2 separate regions of the Homo sapiens genome follow, and region 2 is linked to region 1. Evidence: promoter capture Hi-C in human tissues and cell types (Jung and others, 2019). All regions are on one chromosome and are shown on one strand. Each heading gives the region's core, a stretch centred on a gene start or on the middle of the fragment in contact. The rest is flanking DNA. Distances are from core to core; before and after follow the strand shown.

Evidence for each region. Contacts are between HindIII fragments. The study calls those that stand out against the background at their distance.
Region 2: a fragment that was not itself captured here is called in contact with the fragment with the promoter of B3GALNT1 in region 1 in 1 of the 25 tissues and cell types used here (thymus).

Annotation. Positions count from the first base shown.
Region 1 is chr3:161,103,442-161,106,968 of GRCh38, reverse strand. B3GALNT1 (beta-1,3-N-acetylgalactosaminyltransferase 1 (Globoside blood group)) reads left to right here and starts at 1,620. Exons shown (of 5, transcript NM_003781.4): 1 at 1,620-1,734; 2 at 2,563-2,650; 3 at 3,452-3,527. It overlaps LOC124909453 (a long non-coding RNA gene), which reads right to left and starts at 2,288. Exons shown (of 2, transcript XR_007096147.1): 1 at 2,084-2,288; 2 at 1-398. RefSeq lists silencers at 1,716-1,805, 1,816-2,065. The HindIII fragment of the contact is 8,350 bases long and covers 1-3,527 here.
Region 2 is chr3:161,052,787-161,056,313 of GRCh38, reverse strand. The region is part of intron 2 of PPM1L (protein phosphatase, Mg2+/Mn2+ dependent 1L); the gene reads right to left. Among named protein-coding and RNA genes, the nearest start is that of B3GALNT1, 51 kb to the left of the region's middle. The HindIII fragment of the contact is 5,452 bases long and covers 1-3,527 here.

The DNA.
Region 1 (3,527 bases), core at 371-2,870:
CAGAGACAAAGTCTAAAATATTTACTATCTGATCCTGTTTTACAGAAAACTTGGCCAACCCCTGCTACAGCTGAATGTATCTATACGAGTGAGCCAAATCAAAACCAGAGAGGAACCACATAACCAACCTTCAGAATTATGAGAAATATTAAATTGACATTTTTGCAAGCAACTATATTTTGGGAGAGTTCGATCTGCAGCAATAGATGACTCAATCACAAGCTGATAAATGCTACACAAAGAAAAAGGAGACTGCTTCAAAGGAAATAATCTCATAAAGGTTTTGGGCCTTTTTGTCTCACTTACTTCATTTAGGAGAATTTCTTACCCCAATCTGTTGTCCATGGCTCTGCTTTGCATTCCAGGGAAGTTTTGGCAGCTATGAGCACATATACCTGCTGGTTACTCAAAGGACATTCAAAACATTTTAAAAATGAGTATTGAAATACAACTTTTCTAAAATTTTAAGAAACGGAATTTGTAAAATATAGTATTAATGCCCTAAAGCATTCTTCCAAATAAGAGGTCTATTTTTTCAGCATATTAATCTATCTGCAGTGAAACCTGTCTGGTTTTGTTATTAATGGACCTCCTTGACTTAGTGAGGTGAACTGTCAGCCCAGGTAGGGTGAAGAATGGCTGTGATAAAGGCGTGCAGCAGGGCAGCAATCACTTTACCCTCTGCAAAGGACACAGCTACCTGCCAAGGCTGGAACCAGGAAAACAATCTCAACCATAATTTAGATCTGATTATTATAATTTAGATCTGATTATTTATGCAGTGTCAACTAAGTCCTTGACTTACACTGCTACTATCTAAACTTACTTTTGTTGTATATCCATTTTGATCTCTATATTCACCCCTATTATTTTCAGAGAACCTTCAAACTATCCTAAGTAATTTTGCAGAAAAAGGCTATAAGGAAGAAGCAGTCAGGCCAAAGAGTCAGTAAACAAAAAGAAATGGTGGGCCACGTTTAGTCTTGATGCAAATGTGTGGGTTACAATCAGGGGTGGTGCTCATGGCTGAGCTTGGTAGTGGTTAAATACATGATCCAGACCCACTTGATTTTGAGGAAAGGACCAGTACAATCAATACTGCACATCTTGGTAAAAGGAGTTTGAGGAGATGGATCTGGGAGTTTAGGTCAGCTATGCTCAGGTGTACAAAAGCAACTCCCTGGGACTCCCATCCATACACAGGCCATTGAAACCTGACGTGTCTCTCTTACCCCCATTCCATTCCCCATCGATTCCGGAAGAAGAACTGGCATTTCTTCTGAGACAGCAAAGAACTCCTCCTAAGATTTCCTCTTTCCTAATTAGTTCTGTATGAAGTTTAACAAGAAAATCCCTCCAGGGCCGCCTCGAGGCCATGCACTCACGCAGTTTGGAAAGACGACCAGGGAAAAAGGATCTCAAACAAAAATTCTAGCTCGACGTCTGCCACTAAGTTGTCTAATTTTGGCCAGCATCAACTAAAGGCATACATAACACGGCCGTGCTCGGAATGCAAGGTGACCGCGAGGACCCAGAGGGCGCGCCATGCGAGCTCACAGGGCTGGGGGCCGCCTGGGCCCGCGCGTGCAGCCAGGGGCTTCCGGCCGCGGCCCTGGCGCGTGGTCTGCGCGCGCCCGGCCGTGCGTGCGGATGCGGGGAGGCTGCGTGTGTGCGCAGGGAGAGAACGCCGGCCACCTTCCCGCTTCCGAGCTGGGTGCGCGCCGAGCACAGGAGGTGAGTGAGAAGGGCGGCCCTGCAGGGTCTCCGAGGCGGTTGAGTCCTGCCACTGGGTGGAGGGTATAGCCACCGGACCCGCCTTTCCCGGAACGCGCCGTCCTCGGAAACGCCTAGACCCCGGCAGCTAGGCCGGGAGGCACCGCCCACTCCTCTAGAGCGGAGCGTGGCCCAGGTTGAGCCGCCGCACCGTGGGTCTCGGGTCTCGGTGACGAGCAGCTGCCCGCCTCCGGTGAGCGCGGGAGAAGGGGCCCAGTGGGGCAGTGGGCGACGCGGAGGGCCCAGGCCCAGGCCGCGGCCGCGCCGCATCCGCTGGTTGTCCACCTTGCCTTGCCCCAGGGTGCAATACCTGCCTTGCGTCGCCCGTGCCGCTCCAGCCACCGTCAAATCCGGGTAGCGACCCGGGGCGTTTGCAGCGGTGCCGAGGAAGAGGACGGGAACGGTGTTACGGTATTGGTGGGCCCCTAACAGGCCTGCGGCGAACGCTTTCCCGGAGCGCTAGGGAAGGGCCCCGGCGCAGGGATGTCGGAGGGATTGGGAAGGAATGTGAAACTAAGTGGGGAATGTGGAGAACGGGCGGAGAGAGAAGGAAATCCCACGGGGCTAGGGCTACAGGATTCCTACAGGCAGTGTTAAGGAACATACAGGGCGTTTTAAAAAGATTCCTAGAGGTGCAACGGAGTCTCACTTTTCCAAGCAGTAAGGAATGATGCCATCCTCAAGTACGGGTAGTCTTTGAATTCAGTATCCGTTCGCCTTCTTAATGTTGGATTTAGGAGGGAGATTTGCAGGGCTTTCATGATTTTGTTTCCTCTGCGTTTTGCACAGATTGCCTGCGTTTAGGAGGTGGCTGCGTTGTGGGAAAAGCTATCAAGGAAGAAATTGCCAAACCATGTCTTTTTTTCTGTTTTCAGAGGTAAGGAAAATTTGGGTTTGCAGTGTTCAACTGGGAACAAGTTTTTTAGCTTCTCCCAGGAGGCTTAAGCAAAAGAAGGGCGCTGAATTTGTGCTCTTAGTATGCATGTGTCGATGCCTGATAAAAGCACAAATTACTGAACGCGTATCAGTCTGGAGAACAGAATCGTTTATTACTAACAGATAAGAGACTATGACTTTTTTCCCCTCATAGACTAAAATGTTCGTTCAAATGAATGGCCATTGGATAACTCCAGACCTGAAAATAAACACTGTTGTCAAAACAGCATCCAGGCCGGGCGCGGTGGCTCACGCCAGTAATTCCAGCACTTTGGGAGGCCGAGGCGGGCAGATCACCTCAGGTCGGGAGTTCGAGATCGGCTTGGCCAACGTGGTGAAACCCCGTCTCTACTAAATATACAAAATTAGCTGGGTGTGGTGGCACACACCTGAAATCCCAGTTCCTCGGGGGGCTGAGGCAGGAGAATTGCTCGAACCCGGGAGGCAGAGGTTGCAGTGAGCCGAGATTGTGCCATTGCACTCCAGCCTGGGCAACAGAGTGAGACTCCATCTCCAAAACAAACAAAAAACAAAAAAACAGTGTCCAAGTATAATTTCAGATTAGAGCATGAGGTGATTTGAAAGCGAGAAGAGAGGATCAAGGCTTTTCCAAAAATGAAAAAAGTGTTGATATGTAATAAATGGCTCCAAAAACAACTTGCTAAGTATACAACATTGATTTTAGATGTCATAATTCCTAATGTTATGACTCATATATATTTTTTTCTGTTCTTCTGTTCAGTAGTTCACAACAGATCTGAGTGTTTTAATTAAGCATGGAATACAGAAAACAACAAAAAACTTAAGCTTTAATTTCA
Region 2 (3,527 bases), core at 733-3,232, 51 kb after region 1:
AGCAGCCTTTTTGATAGTACACATTCAGATTCAGATTCAAATATCAATGACTGTCCATCAGTGTCTGGGTGACATTGAGAGCCTCAGCTGCTTTTAGGCTCTCCCTGCACTGCCTTGCTGCATCTCTTAAGTAGTGCCACTCAATCCTTCTCCTCAGAGCAAACATTCTGCCTTGGGTGCCAATTAAGATCCTCACTCCCTTGCCCCCCTCCAACCTTTCTGTAGGCACACAGGTATGATTTAAAAATTGGAGTCCTGAGAATCCTTATTTTATGAAAATCCACCTTACTGCAACATTTTCTTAAGTGAGTGATGTCACTTTTTATGTTGTGGGGTACGGATTGGAAGCTGGATGGAGTAGAGAAAGTTGTGTGGAATTAACATGGTTTATAAGCCTTGCTTGATAATGCACATGGACACTCACCCACACAATGCCAGACTGCTTATGCTAATAGCAGCTCCCTTCTGTGACATAAAGTCTTTTCTATGAGAATAAGGGAAACTGCCATTTTTGTTCTTTAGGAAAGAGAGAGAGAGATTGGGGAGGGTAAGGAAGGGGTGGCAAGGGGTGAGGAAGGGGAGGAGGCGAAAGGGGGCGAGACATAGAGAGATAGGCACACACACACTTCAAGGATTTCAGTGAAGGTGTTACAACAGCCAAAGGGCCATTCATTATACACAGCACAGGAGAATCAACACATTTTTAGGATGAGGAGAAATAAAATAGGTTTATCTCGTAAAGGTTTGACAATGAGTGTTAGTTCAATAACACAATTTCAGGGCATAGATGACATCAAGGCCTGATAACGGACAGAAATTACATTGGAGTGCAACATACTGGAAAAAGAGCAGGTGAAGGCAGTCATTAATGAAACTATCACATGGGAAAGATAAGATCACTGTCAGCAGAGGTTTCCAGCCCCCACCTTCCACAGCCAACACTGTGGTCAGCCCTGTCCTGAAACACACATAAAGTACCCGGCAGCTCTCAGATAAGACTCCCTGACCCCTACTCTTGTCTGCATAATCTTTAAGTCTGCCAAAATCTGACCTGCCTAGAGGTTTTTACGAGTCTTTCTTCTAATAATCAATGCCATGGCATAGAAAGACTTGTCAGGGATGATACCTTGTGTGGAAAACACTATAAACAGTAAGCTTTAATCTTTCTTTTCTCTCTTGTCTATTGCCTGAGTCCTTGTACCCCCTGCTCTGACTTCACTGAGAGGCAGGCCATCATCAGAGTCATATCAATGTGTGTGGCTGGGCTAAGACACTGTGTCACCTGACATATTAGTCTAACTCTGTGAAGAGACTATTAAATTAATACTAATTACGATTCAAATCACAAGTCCATAGGTCCCCTGTAATAAGTCTTGTAGTAATGGGCTTGAAAGTCATTTTATGTTAAGAGAGGATGTGTAGAAAGTAATTGGAAATTGGAAAATGATCTATCTATATGGAAGGACACAAATGGGCCACATTGTGACAGCTGCCATATACTGAGCATTCACCATGCGTCAGGCTCTGTACTTAGTCCTTGGCATACATAATTTCTTTAATCCTAATAGCCTATGATGTACTATTATTATTCCCATCTTACAGATGATAAAACTGAGATTATGTGACTAGCCCAAGGTCACACAGCTAGTAAGGGGTAGAACCCACCTAGCCTGTTGCCAGAGTCTTGCTTTCAACATCAGGGCAGGCCATTGCTACCTTGTGTTTAATTTTTTGTGTGCAAACCAGAAAAAGGTATGTCTTCATCAAGACCCTTTACTACCATCTCCATAAAATGGCCATAATACATATTTAAATCGACAATGACCACAGTGTGAATGGTGCCGTCCAGAGCTGTGGGGTAATCCAAACATACACAACCATATGGGCAACCCTGCTTAGAGGCTTTATCCCGTACCCACTGACCCCAGGAAGAAAGACATCATAGTACAAGGTCAGTCAATGAGGAAGTTCAGCAGAACAGCACATTAGGGGGTTTCTATTTCATGGAGAGACTGGTAGCAGCCCTAAAACCTGACTGGGAAGAGTGAAACACTGACAACAAAACATCTGAGGCAAAGGATATAATTAAGAACACACCAAGGCCTTCTTCCATCAAGACCTGAGGTACTAGGATAGCAAACCATCTTTGTGGGCTTCCAAGCAGAAGAAGCAGTGATGGGACACGCCCATATATGCAGGGAGGCTCATGTGAATCCCCTGAACTGGGTGGAGACTGAAGGTCCCCTAAAATGGCACCTCCTTGGGTCTTCCTTTACAATAGAAGCTGCCTCAGCTTCCCCTCATCATGTGCTAAAGAGCAGAGCGGCAGGAATGACATTTTATGAGAAATAGATCCATTACAAATTAAAATTTTCTTTTCCTCTCTGATATTTTTGCATAAGCAAACATATCAACTATTGAGTTTGACACTGGATGAATATGAGGCAGTCAACTTGATGACAAATTCTATTATTTTAAACCCTAGTGCTATATAGTTTAATTCTAGATTTAGGTATACTTTGGCTCTTCCCCAGCAAACACAGTGATTAATAAGATGGCTACAATAAATTGAGAAACAGGGGATGAGTGCCAGAAAGACCTTTTCCACAAATGAGGTATGCCACCCTAAATATGAAAAAATATCTCTTTAGTGAGGGAGGTGGGGGTCATAATTCAACTTTCAGAATCTGACGGAGTGTTCATTTAATTTTCACACTTCACCAGAGTTAAAGTATAGATGTGTCATCTGATTCTCATGAATACTATTTTGAAATTAAAATGTTCTTCAACTTCACATTTCAACTGCTGTAATAATAATGTTTATTTCACACTTGGGTGCAGCCTATGGGCAACCTTCTGGTCCTTCCTTTTCTGTTAAGTATGAACATATTAAAGAGAGCTGCTTCCTAGTAAACTGATCACATGCATTGGAGAGTCTTAGGAAACCACAGTGGGTCCACTTGCTGCAGGAGGCTTCATATATACTCTCTGGGCATGACTATTTTGAGGTACATTCAAGCAGACAAGCTTTTCTGATCCTCATTAACATACTTCTCATAACTATTGCTGGCATTTCAGATTATACAATGCTACTGAAATTAATTTATAATTACATAATCACAACCTGAATTCTAAGTCCAGTATCTTTTAATGGTAAATAAAATTAATTTCATGGTTGCTTTGATTCTTCCTACATAAGCCAGAGAAGCACCAGCTATATTTTTTCACGTCTTCGTGTTATTTGAGGATTCTTCAGTGAGTTGTCTCACTTCTCTTTTAGGGTTCCCAGCAAATTATAACTACGGTCTCTGCTTTTTTTATGAATGCTATGGGAGTGGGGTATAACAGGAACTTCTGAAATTGAACCTTATTACAAGGGGCATTTGCCTTTCAATAAAAGGCAGAGAGGAGAAAGGCAGAGACAGGAAAAGGGGAGAAGAAGGCTGAAAATGAGAGGCACAGTCTGAAGCATCTGGTACTTAAAAGAGAATTACACTTTCTTTAACCTTTTTGTTATTGGTGTAGAA